2 separate regions of the Homo sapiens genome follow, and region 2 is linked to region 1. Evidence: promoter capture Hi-C in 16 types of primary human blood cells and fetal thymus (Javierre and others, 2016). All regions are on one chromosome and are shown on one strand. Each heading gives the region's core, a stretch centred on a gene start or on the middle of the fragment in contact. The rest is flanking DNA. Distances are from core to core; before and after follow the strand shown.

The links. Contacts are between HindIII fragments. The CHiCAGO score rates a contact against its expected background, and 5 or more counts as called.
Region 2: a fragment that was not itself captured here is called in contact with the fragment with the promoter of INSM1 in region 1 in 1 of 17 cell types (M2 macrophages); the score reaches 5.4 in M2 macrophages.

Annotation. Positions count from the first base shown.
Region 1 is chr20:20,364,608-20,371,138 of GRCh38, reverse strand. It overlaps INSM1 (INSM transcriptional repressor 1), which reads right to left and starts at 3,035. Exons shown (of 1, transcript NM_002196.3): 1 at 190-3,035. The coding sequence starts at 2,871. The coding sequence ends at 1,339. RefSeq lists an enhancer at 3,172-3,942. The HindIII fragment of the contact is 3,677 bases long and covers 1,017-4,693 here.
Region 2 is chr20:20,104,849-20,111,379 of GRCh38, reverse strand. The region is part of intron 8 of CFAP61 (cilia and flagella associated protein 61); the gene reads right to left. Among named protein-coding and RNA genes, the nearest start is that of CFAP61, 56 kb to the right of the region's middle. RefSeq lists an enhancer at 4,634-5,198. The HindIII fragment of the contact is 1,304 bases long and covers 1,734-3,037 here.

The DNA of each region.
Region 1 (6,531 bases), core at 1,786-4,285:
CTACCAAGGCTATACCCTCAGGCTGCCAGAAGGGCAGAGTTCCGCAGCTGAGGTTCAGCTCTGAAAACCCACCATCCTGGTGGTTCCCTTTTTCCTAATAAAAAATAAAGTTACATTTTAAGAAACCATCAGAAGCTCTATTTTAAATTCGTCCTGAAAGCATGTGATGCAGAAATCAGGCCACCACACTTTGACTTTGAAAATATTTTATTTGAATAGTAAATAGTTATACAGTTGAAACAGTTCTATTGAAGCTTTCTATAAATAGCTAACAATTAAGAAAATAATGTATGTAGAAAAGAGATTGCATTTAAAAGTAAGAGCTGTCGGTTGTACAAGGGCCCTGGGGACCCTCGAAGCAGAATAAATGATAGGTTGTCTGTAATTCACTCAGATAGGTATAAAAGTTAAAACTTTAAGCAGATCCCTTTAGAAAAAGGCTCTCTTCTAAAACGCACAGTGGAATGTCAAGAGTGGCAGGGTGGGGAGGGGGCAGCGCGCCAAAAAAATCTGCAATCAAATAATATCATAATCTTCATAATTAATATAAATAAATAAAGAATAAATAACAATTACTCATAAATCAACATATACATTTAGAGGGAACTGATAGTCCTACCTCAACAAAGATGATCAAACCAAAAAGTCTTACGTGAAACACTGAGGCAGTTACTACAGCATCTTCGGAACACTCCCTTCCCTCCCCCCACAAAACAATCCCAGACAACAGTTCAAGGCATTTGTGGCTATACTAAAGAAAACTCTTTTTTAAGCAATTTGATTTGTTCACATACAAAAAGGTAAAGCCAGACTCCAGCAGTTCACAAGCCATAATAAAGCTAATCGTGTGGGAAGTTCAATTTACAGCCTGTGAAATATAAAGGCATTTATTCCTCAAGATTCACCCAAAACAACCCGTACGCTACATACATAGAGAGCAGAGATTGGTAGGCGAGGCGAGACCAGACCGCATTTCTAGACCATGAACACAGCGAATACTAGCAAGAAAAAAAGCTTCTCCCCGCCAAGGGGAGGCTTCCAACCACGAGACAAACGCGTACAGCTTTTCTCCCTTGTACAGAAAGAGACTGACTCCTGTTGCGCCATGGGGGAGGCGGAGGGACACAACGTAAAAGTGGGGGTTCCAAAAGGAGTCAAAAGGAGAGTATGGGGTTACCGTCACGCCACACCGAGAGAAGCGGAGACGACACTTTCACCCGGTGGGGGCGGGGGCGAGGCTCCCCCAGCGCGGACTCGGGTTCGGGGAGTGCAGGGCGCACTCTCTTTGTGGGTCTCCAAGCGAAGGCACAGTTCGGGGGCCGGGGTGGAGGGCGCGCTCTAGCAGGCCGGGCGCACGGGCACCTGCAGGAGGATCACCTGTCTGTTTTCGGATGGGTGGCACTTGTTGATGTGCCGCGTAAGGCCGGGCGAGCTGTAGAAGGTGGCCGGGCAGTACTTGCAGGGGAACACCTGGGCGGCGTGCAGCAGGCGCAGGTGGCGCTCCTGAGCGCCCTTGCTGGCGAACGACTCTCCGCACACTGGGCACAGGTGGCACTCGGCGGACGCACTCAGGCCCAGCACGCCGGCCCCCTCGCCGTCGCCGGCCGCCTCCTGGGGCGCCTTCTCGTCGGGCCCGGGGTACAAGGCCAGTAGGTCCTCGGCCGGGGGCGCTAGCGGCGCGCCCTTGGCCTGCAGCGCCTGGTGGTGCGCCAGCAGGTGCTTGCGTAGGTAGGCCTGGCGGCGGAACTTCTTGGCGCAGTGATGGCACTCGTAGAGCCCGTCCTCGGAGCCCGACTCGGACACGCCGCCGGGGCTCGGCGTGTCCCGGTCGCTGCCGCCGCCGGGTGCCTCCCGCGCCTCAGCCCTGGCTGCTGCTTCTGGCTCCGGCGCGCGGGCGGCGGCGGGCGCGGGCCGCGGTTTGTGCCAGCGGCGGTGCGAGGCCAGGTTGGCCGGGCAGCTGAAGACCTTGGCGCACTCGGGACAGCGGTACTCCACACGCACGATGCGCGAGCATTTGTGCTGCGCCAGCGCGAACGGGTCGGCGTACTCCTCCTTGCACAGCTGGCAGATGAACTCGCCCAGCGGCCGCGCCGCGCCCCCCGCGCGGCCCCGCGGCGCCTCCACCGGGCCCTCCTTGATCTTGAGCCCCAGCACGGGCGACGTGGTCACCTCGTCCTCGAAGTGCAGCTTGCGGATGGCCTTGGGCTTCTTGGCGCCCGGGGCCTTGACTGCCTTGGCGGGCGGCTCCGCGGCGGTAGGGGGCGGGGGCCGCTTTCCCGGGGGCCGCAGGGCGGCGGCAGGGGGCAGTGGGGGGCCGGGGCCCGGGCCGCGGGCCGCCTCGGCGCCAGCCGAGAACGCCGTGCCCATCTTGAGCTCGGCGGGCGCGAAGAGCAGCGGGTCGCCGCCGCAGGTGCCGCCTCCGCCAGCTCCGCTCGCGCCGCCGCCGCCGCCCCCTCCGAGCAGCGCGGCGGGCGTGGGGAAGGACTCGGCCGAGACCGGCGAGCCCAGGTTGAAGCTGCGTTCGAAGTACTTGTGCTTCTCGTGCTCGCGGCTCACGGGCCGCGTGGGACTGTAGAGCGGCGCGGGGTGCGCAGCCTCGGGGTTGCCGAAGTGCGCGGCCCGCGGGCCCTGCGGGGGTGGCTGCGGCCCAGGCGCGCAGGCAAGCGCGGCGGCGAGCGCTGCATGGGCGCGCTCCGCGGGCGGCGGCGGCGGCAGCGGCCCGGGGACCGGGCTCGGCGCCGGGGGCTCGGCGCGGGCGCCCCCGCAGCTGGGCGAGAGCAGCAGTGCGCGGTCGCCGTCCTCGCCGCCGCGGACCCGGTAGGAAACGGGCGTGGACTTCTTGCTGCGCTTCACCAGGAAGCCGCGGGGCATGTTGGCGCGGCCCGAGGGCACGGCACTGGCTCGGTCCCCCCTCCGCGCTCGGCCCCGGCGGCCCTCAGTGCCCCCGGCCCATTGCCCGGGCGCGGCGGCTGCGGGACTCGCGTGGCGCCGGCGACGGCTCGGCCCAGCTCTGCGCCCTGCACGCGCGTCCCTGTCCCCGGGCCCGGCAGCCGCTCCCTTTTAACGGGGGGAGGGGGCCATTGTTCTCGCCTCCCGCTTCCCCTGGAGCCAATCAGCGCGTCCGCAGCTCCTCAGCCTGGCAGGGTGGGAGGGCGATGGGGCGGCCAAAAGGGGGCCGGGACTCGGGGGTCGCCCGGTAGGTGCGGCAGATGTACCTGAGGGCGCGGGGCCCCCGCGCGCGCCCCTGGTCGCCCCGCCCGGCGCCGCCGCCCCGCCCGGTCCAGGCACACGCCCGGCCCCGCCTCCCTTCACGGTCTGCTGCTTCTCTATGGGGAGGCGCACGTGCCTGGGCTTTGTGTCTCTCCTCCGGGGGGCGCGGAGCCGCCAAATGGGCCCGTCCATCAGCGCGACAATGCACGCCCCCCTCCCGCGCGGGGATTACCCGCGGGTCGCTAGCAAAATAGCAACAAAGGAGAAGAATGGCCCCAAATATGTCAGGAGGGTTCAATCCGCGAGCCGGAGCCGAGGGGGAAGTTGTGCGCGCTGATTGGGTGGGGGCGGGGGCGCGCCGGGGCGGTGCGGGGGAGATCGTTGCGGAGGCGCAGTGGCTCCGCGTGGTGTTTGGGAAATAAACAAGAATCCGAGAGAGCAGCAGGGTCCGGACGGCCTCCGCCCGGACCTTGGACGGATGGGCCGCTGGACCCAAGAGGCCAAGCAAAAGGGTTCCCCGGGGTTCCAAGTGTGGACAGGGGGCCCGGCCTTCTGGCAGTGGCCGAGGGCGATGTTTGTGCTCGCAGCCTCCGCGCGCCCACGGGGCTAGAGAAGGTTTCTTTCGAGTTTGAGAAGGAATTGGCACGGCCTTCTCAGTCTCCCGAAAGCGCGGGATTGGAGCGCGGGCGGGCTGGGCTGGGTTCCCAGAGGAACGTGAATTTCTGAACTTTTGGGTTCTTGGAGGCTTGGGAATGGCATCTTTGGCGGGGCCCGACCCAGGCCGCCCGGAGCTTCCGCGTGGTCCAAGGCTCGGTTAATCCGGGTCGAGTTGGCCGAAGCCCGAAACGCGCGGTCGGCCTCGTGCGCCCCAGTGAAGTTGGCTTTCTCCTCCCCGCGCGGCCTCATGCATTTTCATTCCGAGCGGGCATTTTGTTTGCCGGTTGACATCAGATGCTAAATCAAGGGCTCCAATCAAGGCGCTGCGAAATAAAGGGGCTGCCTGTCTGGGCGCAGCCCCCACGGAGCCGTGCCCCCTTCACCTTTGTGAAGGAAATTAACCTCCTGCTATTGAGCTCCGGTCGCGGCCAATCTGGACGCAAAAGAGACGCGTGCTGGACGGGGGGAGGGGGGGCAATCTGTACTCTGAGGCAGGCTGAGGCCTCCGAGAGGACAAGCCGCCTCCCCTGTGCCACCAGGAAGAGACAACAGCGAAGATTCCCCCCGCCCCCACCCCCACCCCCACCTCCGCTGCCGTTCCGTTTGGACCCAGACTGGGCCGCCTGCCTCCATCCTCTGTCCAGCCCAGCCCCGAGGAAACACAAAAGGCAGAATCTTCGGGGGACAGGGCAGAGAACCCCACGAGTGCGTAGTGGCCCTGATCGTCCAACACTGGGGAACAAATAGCCAAGCCACATAAAATGTCATATGCTGTGAGGAAAATGTCACTTTATTGAAAGAGAAGGAAACATTTTTCTGCAAAGCTTTGTATACCAGACAGATTTTGCTGAGTTTTACTTACGCTTAATTCCACTGAAGGTATTTAATTGTTTTGGATTTTCCCTCTGAAAATACCCTGGCGTAGAAATTAAACATGTAAAAATAGAGTCCACATGAGTCATAAGTTGTGATGGGGACAGTTGTTAGGCTTAATTAATTAAGGGGTTAATCAGGTTGGTTAATCAAGGGAAAGATATTTGATAATTTTATGTTTGTAATATTTTAACTCACACACTGAAAAGGGAAGAATGCATATAGTGAAATATATTTTGAAAAGTCTCACCCTAGTTTTAAAAATGCTGTGGTGAGTGCTAGTCTCCCCAAAAGTTAGAAATCTTAAAATGAGTTTATCTAAAATTTATAAACATATTTCTATCTAAAAGTAACTGATGTTATTTCCTTGCTCTTTTGAGCTCTGATTAATAGTGCTGATGAAATTAGAAGTGGGAAAAGGATTCCGAGACAGCTTTGGCCAATTTTATTTTCTAATCACGAATCCCATCTGGATTGTAGAATAGCATAGGGCGGGGGCTCGGCCTGCCCCATTCGGTCTTGCATATGTAACACTCCTTCCATTCAACAGATAACAGAGAGTTAGTCACCTTGTGAATCCTTTAAAAATAACAACACCCATAATTGTAAATAAGCCGTGGGGATGGGAAACCGGCACCTCTACCAACAAAAAAAACAAAACAACTCCTGCGTGAGTGAATTCAAACAGGGCTCTGAATTTAGCCAAGGGAATCTATTAAACGCTACTGAGATACTGAGATTCAATGAATCCGTTTCTTTTTCTTTATTTGTGGCTTCCAGTCTTGCTAGCGTAAATGAAATCTGCTTTCAGACGGGTACAGTCAAAATAAATGGAAACTTGAAAGGTACTAGTATTGGAAACTAATTTCACCACCCGGGGCTGGAAGGAGTTAGGCTGCGCACGCGCGCACGCACACACCAGCGACCTCCAAGCAGGTGTAGCCCAGCCCGGGCCGTGGATCGCAGCCGCCTTCTGCGTGATTTTCTCAGAACCTGTGCACCCGCATGCATGGGGACATCGGGTCGAGATATTTGTCTTCGCCTGGGAAGAGCAAAGCGCCATCACAGTGCGCCCCCGACGCCGGCCTTGGCGCACGCGATTCGGAGAATGGGCCGCGTGAAGTTAAGTTGGGGGAAACAGCGCGGATTTGCCCCCCTCCAGGGGGGCTTCGCGAAAGTCAGTGAACATAAGGATCCAAGGCAGAGCACCCAAGGGGCCTTCCCCGGCTTCAGGTGACTCCTCCCCTTCCTTCGGGGTCCTGGCCAGCGCTTTGGAAAAATCCCGGGCCTCTTCACTTTCCCTTGCGGACCCCGCGGTGGGTTCTTCCTCCGACGACTGCGGAGCCCGAGGCCCCAGGCCCTCCAATTTCTCCTATCCTGGTGTGCGGGGATGCCGTCGGGGAGCGCGCCGGGGTTCACTCTGACCCTCACCACGGCTGGAAATCAAAGTCAAGGCAACAGGGAGTTTGTAGAAAGCGCGAAGCTTGGAAATAAGAGCAGAAGCGGGGAACTTCTGCGGAGGAGTTGGCTCCTTGGGGTGTCTAGGAGAACAGGAGGCCCTGGCCTCACGGGAGGAGCCGGGCGGGCCCGCATTCTCACCCCGCAGAGGGTATCGCGTTTGGAGACGTCGGCGTTGGGGGTGAGGTGTCAGCGCCCCTCATCACCACTCTGCTGCAGACTTCTCTTCTGGCTTCACAGAAGCCCCCACTCCCGGCCCTCAGTCCCCCGAGCCACAACCGGCAGGAACCGTGCGTTACCGCTGCAGTGCCCGCCGCCCGGAGGGACCAGCGC
Region 2 (6,531 bases), core at 1,136-3,635, 260 kb after region 1:
ACCTTGAGAAAAGGAATCCATCCAAATCTATAGGCATTATAGGTGAAATCCGGTAGCAAGTTCTTGGCCTGACTTCCTAGTCCCAGCAGGCTTTTAAAAGTCCAGTTTGAGATTCCTAATCTCAGTTCAGCAAAGCAAACTTTAATGTGGTCTGTTACCATTTTTGAAGTATTCATATAAATAATCAAACCAAATTTAATGAAACTAGATTTATTTTACAAACAAAATAATATTAATTTTATTATCTTTGATCAAAATTGGGGTGATTATAAATTCTATATTTCAATGGAAAACTATAATCTGCTCATGTGAGTTATCAGATTCTAATCCTGCTCATTACCTCTGAGCCATTTCTACCTTTTTGTAAACTGAATCCTGCTATCTTACACATGTTGCCAGTAATTAATGTTTCCAAATTTTCTCCCATCCTCCTGACTTGGCATCACTGAAAAATCTGACTGCCCGGAACCTTGAGACTCTAGGTTGTCTTGTTTTGCCCCTTTCCCTCCAAGGTCTTAAGAAGCCCTGTGAGCTGAAGCTAGATGGCTTGACATGAACTTCAAAATAGTCATCATCACAATAGATCAAGTGTGAGTATGGGCCTCGTGCTTGGAGCTGCTGCTGTGTGGGCCACTCAGGAAGCTCACTATAACACTCATCTTCTATGCTGCGCTCCAGGAAACAGCCATGACCGTGGTTATAGTGATTTGCTATCTACGCCATCACCAACAACCTTCAAACTGCAAACTGGGAAATCTGTCAGTTTGCCAATACCATGCTCACTCCCCTGTCTAGAAACGCTTCAAACCCAATGTTTAAAAGTCTTTTTGACTGGATGCCCTTTGGTCTCAGAAACTAGGTTGATAGTTGCTCCAGATATTAATCTTGATTTTTATTTTTGTTTCCGCATTCTAATCTATGTTGCTGTCTCCTTTTGCAGATTTCTTTCCTTGGAACTTGTAGCCCTAGTCTTCTCTCCATAGCAATCAACCCTGCTCCTTGTTTGTGAATGTTTTTGAGAAGTTTCAAATGGGGGAAATGAAGAGCTTAACAACCACCAAACCAGTTTATACATAGTATTATATATTATTTTATATATAATACTTTTTTCTCCTGTTAATCTGTTGGTCAATTTGCAGGCCCCCACCCGCTTGGACCTAAGTTGGTAGAGCAAAACTTTGTCTTCCCAAGAAGTGCTTTTATTTTAAAACAAGGAAGCCTAGGCAAGTGGATCACCTGAGGTTAGGAGTTCGAGACCAGCCTGGCCAACACGGTGAAACCCCGTCTCTACTAAAAATACCAAAAATTAGCCAGGCATGGTAGTGCATGCCTGCGATCCCAGCTACTAGGGAGGCTGAGACAGGAGAATCACTTGAACCTGGGAGGCGGAGGTTGCAGTGAGCCGAGATTGCGCCATTGCACTCCAGCCTGGGCAACAAGAGCGAGACTCCGTCTCAAAAAAAAAAAAAAGAATGAATCAGGCAATTAGACAATTAGAATAGGAAGAACAAAACACATTCAAAGAAATCAGGAGAAAGAGGTCACAAAATGAAAGCAGATATTAATAAATTCAAAAAGAAACCCATAGACTTGATAGATTAAGAGCTAGCTCTTTGAAAAGACCAAACAGGAAAACCTAATTAAAAGACAAGACAGAGTAAAAAGCAAAGATGACTTTAAGAAGAAAGAGATATAATCACAGCTACAGGAGAGAATAAATTGTAGGTAAAGCTTTAGACCGAGCACTTGGGAGCTGGGTCCATGTCGTTTGTGAGCACCCTAGTTAGAGGGGGAAGGGAGTCTGCCTTGCTGAAGTCTATTCTGGCTACAAAGTAAGTCAGGAGCCATCTGCCTGAAATGGACCACGCACAGCAATTACCAGAGGCTGACACCAGCTCAAGCATAGAAGGACTGACGTATGGAACAACCAAGAGCATCATTTACCCAAGGAGAGCTCAACAGCCTCAAGTACCTGTGGTGGGATGCTGGGTGGTGCAAAGATGAAACCCCAAGCAAGGAGTAAAACAGGATCAGTTGATTCCAAGTGAAAATCAGGGTAGAGCTAATACAGAGTTCAGGAAGAAAGACATTATTACAGACTTCTGCACAGACTGGGATAAGTGAAAATAATTTTAATTTTTACCTAAAAGAGTCACTTTAGTCAAGTGATCAAAGTGACACACATCATCATCAGTAACAGGGCAGACTGAAAATGTATCACACCAGATAGGATGGACTGAGAGCCCAGAGTTCCACATGCATGACATGACTCTCACCATGAATAAACATCAAACAAACAAAAATAAATTACGTTCTACAAAATTATGGGCTAGGTCATAAAAAGCAGGGAAAGACTGAGCAACTGTTCCACATTGAAAGACAATATGACAAGTAACTGCAGTTTGTTATCCTGGACTGGATTCTTTTGCCACAAAGGACATCCTCAGGACAAATGAAGAAATGTAACTGGTGTCTTTGGATTGTGGATTAAATTGTAGTAACATATTCATGTTAATTTCCTGATATCAGTGGATGTTTGAGGTTGCAAAGGAGAATGTCCCTCTTTATAGCAAATACATACAAAAGTATTCCAAGGTGCTCCAACAACTTCATGTTGGCAACTTACGTTGACATGGATTAGGAAGAAAAAAACGTATCTGCAACTTTTCTGTAGATTTAATAGTTTCCACATTTTAAAAAATATAGGGAGGAAATAAAAGCGTTGCTCTATTGCCACTTCTATGACTCCAGCCCTTTTGTCATTTTAGTTCATTGCCTCCCTGTACTCTTCATAACATGTGTTTTATTAGGTGACTTTACTGATACTGCAATTCATTTTGCATTGATTTTTTTTTCACCTGAGATTATATCTGAACCATTTCCCCTCACTATTTGTAACCTTCTTCTTAAAGGCTTCTGCATATCTATCTAAGGGATATTCACAAGTTTAGCCATCTCCTTGTGGGAGACTTGGGGTTTTTACATTTGTTTATTTGGATATTTTTTGTTTGTTCATTTTTAGTATTATGATTAAGCTTAGTGAAATTCTTGCATATGGATCTTTTTATAGTATTAGTATTATTTCCTCAAATTTGCTATAGTTGAAGTCAAAGAACATGAACATCTAATGCATTCTGTGATAACCATGACTAAATTGTACTCCAGAATGTTATATCAGTCAACCTTCAGAGCATCAGAAAATCTGAGTGCTCATTACAGTGCTTCTTGCCCAGAGCTAAGTGTTTTAATTACAATGCATATTTACAATTTAGTAGGCAAAATGGGGGAGAAAAAGATCTTGGGTTTTAATGTGCATTTCAGTTTTAGGGAAGTTTAATATTTTCCCACATTTATTATGAATAATATTTTTATATAACTACTTTTGTGATTTGCTTTTCTCTTTATTTTAGAATATTTCATGTAGACTTAAATCAGTACTCAATAAAAAAGACAGGCTGGGTGTGGTTGCTCATCCCTGCAATTCCAGCACTTTGGGAGGCCAAGGCAGGAAGATTGCTTAAAGCCAGGAATTCAAGACCAGCCTGGCAACAAAACGAAACCCTGTCTCCAAAAAAATGTAAAAATTAGCAAGGTATGGTGGCACATACCTATAGTCCAGCTACTCAGGAAGCTGAAGTAGGAGGATCACTTGAGCCCAGAAAGAGTTCAAGGCTGCAGTGAGCCATACTTGCACCACTGTACCCCAGCCTGGGCAACAAAATGAGACCTTGTCTCTGAAAAAAAGAAAAAAAATTTTTTTAAGTATTTTTCCACAGAGTTGGATACATATATACACACATATATTATACATATACTCCTATATATATCTCCACTACTGTATGCTAATTTTTCATCTTCATATACTAAATTAAGCTTTTCTAGAATAATCTTATTTCCAAAATTGATTCAAAGGAAATAGAAAACCTGAATCTATTAACTACCTTGAGGAGAAATGGAAAAGTTGTCAAAGATGCTTCCAAGATGCCTCTACCAGGTCTTCTACTGAGTGAGCCTATCTGTCCATGGAGGTCTGAAAATACCGAAAGTCCAAGCAAAATGCAGTGGAGAGAAGGCCTCTGACCCAGTAGTCAAATAACTGGCTTCATGTTGAGCTTCAGAATTAATAAATTTTCCTTTGTTTGTTGCCATGTGCAAAAACTGTGCTTTTCAGTAATTGCTTCCTTAGCCGCTTGGCTCAGATTAAATTTGGTCCATGATATTTTAAGAATCATCAAAAACTCTTTGTAAACAGAACTCACAGTGACCTCAGTGCAATGGGTGTGACCCACTGATGGCCAATTTAATCAAGGGGGAATTCAAAGTATTCAGTGCAAGCAATTGATTTTCAAGAGAAAAGTCAGCAGGATCAAACACCCAGTTGGGATGAAAATCCCTTGAATCACCCCTATCACCGTGTTTTCTAGCAACTAACTGCTGACTCCATATAGCGTAATAGCCAAATTACTATAATTATCCTGCAACACAAGTGGCATATCAACATTATTTTAAACACGGATTTTTTTTGCATAATCTTTCGTTATTATCTTTCAGCCTTCCATCTGAAAATGGAAAACAACAACAAACTGTGATCTACCCCAACAGGAAAAAGGTCACCAGAGAGAACAAATAAAAGGGTTATTTACATGTGAATGTACTGAGATGTGTTTTACAGTCAAATACACTCTTGAACTTCATTAAATGCCTTCTCCCCTGCTTCATAAATATGGGCAAAAGAGACATCCCCTACTGAGAAAATAATCCCAGCACATAATGATCATAACGAATATAAATAAAGCCACTTTTCTTCTGAAGACCTCCAGGCCCCATACAAAAATGCGCTTGTATTTCCACCATTGTGAAATGAATCTGACTGTTGGAGAACAAGGCTGTGATATCACAGGTCGCTCCCAGGGCTGAAGAGGAAAGGAGGAATGCAGATCTCAGTCATGTTGCTGTCTGCAAAATAATAGATTCTTAAGTGGTTGCCATCCTTTGATGCTATGGTTGTTTTTGAAGACATTAGAAAAGGCTTAGAAATCAGCTTTGGAATTAAGATGGAGAATTGACAACAGGTTTTATGAAATAACCAAAAGGCTCACCAAGATGGCTTTGGGGTCATGTCCCTGACAACAAGTTCTGGGCTTCAGGTCTGGATTACAGTCTTCCTGGTATCCTACCAGTCCAGGGGCTCTGCCCTGAAAGCCCTGAAAGAGTCTAAACTCTCAACATTGGAGATGCCTGGGTATAGGTCTGGTATGATTTATTTGTTTTATCAACATCTCTTGCAAAGCTTTAGAATTAACAAAGTAGATTCTAGAAAATCAAATTTTATATATATATATATATATATATATATATATATATATATATATATATATAGGCAAGAGTAGCTAAAGCTTTCGAAGATGTTGCCTTCATATGCTAAAGACATTCAGTGGCTTAAAAAAATGAAATTCATCATGCCTGTAATCCCAGCACTTTGGGAGGCTGAGGTGGGCGGATCACAAGGTCAGGAGATCGAGACCATCCTGGCTAACACAGTGAAACCCCATCTCTACTAAAAAAAAAAAACTCAAAAAAATTAGCCGGGCATGGTGGCAGGCGCCTGTAGTCCCAGCTACTCGGGAGGCTGAGGCAGGAGAATGGTGTGAACCTGGGAGGCGGAGCTTTCAGTGAGCCGAGATTGCACCACTGCACTCCAGCCTGGGCGACAGAGCGAGACTCCGTCTCAAAACAATAAAAATAAATAAATAAATAATTCAAATTTTAACAAGTATAAGTTAGTATATTAGGGCTATGTATGAACATTAAGTAAAGCCGACTTTGCTGCCACTGTCTGCATTACTATCAGAGCCTTGAGTACAGGCATCAAAGAACCACACCACAGGATCTAGGAGAAGGAAAGAAAAGGGGAGGAGGGAGAACTGAGATGCTCAAAGCCCAGATCACAATGAGAAAATGGCAAATTTGGTGGCAACTGCTACCAAGTGAGTAATATTGCTGTGTGGCCACTGAGTGAGAGCTATAATGGGCCCCAGAACTCACCCTAGCCTCCTGGGAAGTGGAGGTGACCAGGGCACAGAAGCCTGTAAGAACAGAACTCCTCTCCTAGGGGGATCTGAAACCCATGCCAGGAACAATGAGAAGCCCATTGGTGGGACACAGGGACTTTCCTCGGGCACAGAAGGTTGGGTGGGTGCGGCTTACATCCAGCCAGGGGAAGAACATGGGCTTATGAGAGGATGTAGACATCCAAACATTCCCCACCCTGAACACATACCGCCCCCCTATTAGGGACCAGAGGAAGGCAGTACGATACCATAGAGCCTCTCCTGGGCTGTAGTGTGCCTCCTCCCACCCCCAAAACTCGTACACTGAAGGCTTAACCCCTAGTACCTCAGAATGGGACTGTATTTGCAGACAGTCTTTAAAGAGGTAACTGAGTTAAAGTTACAGGTGAGCCCTAATGCATTGTGACTGGTGTCCTTATAAAAAGAAAAACCAAAAACACTGATGGGCACAGAGGGAAGA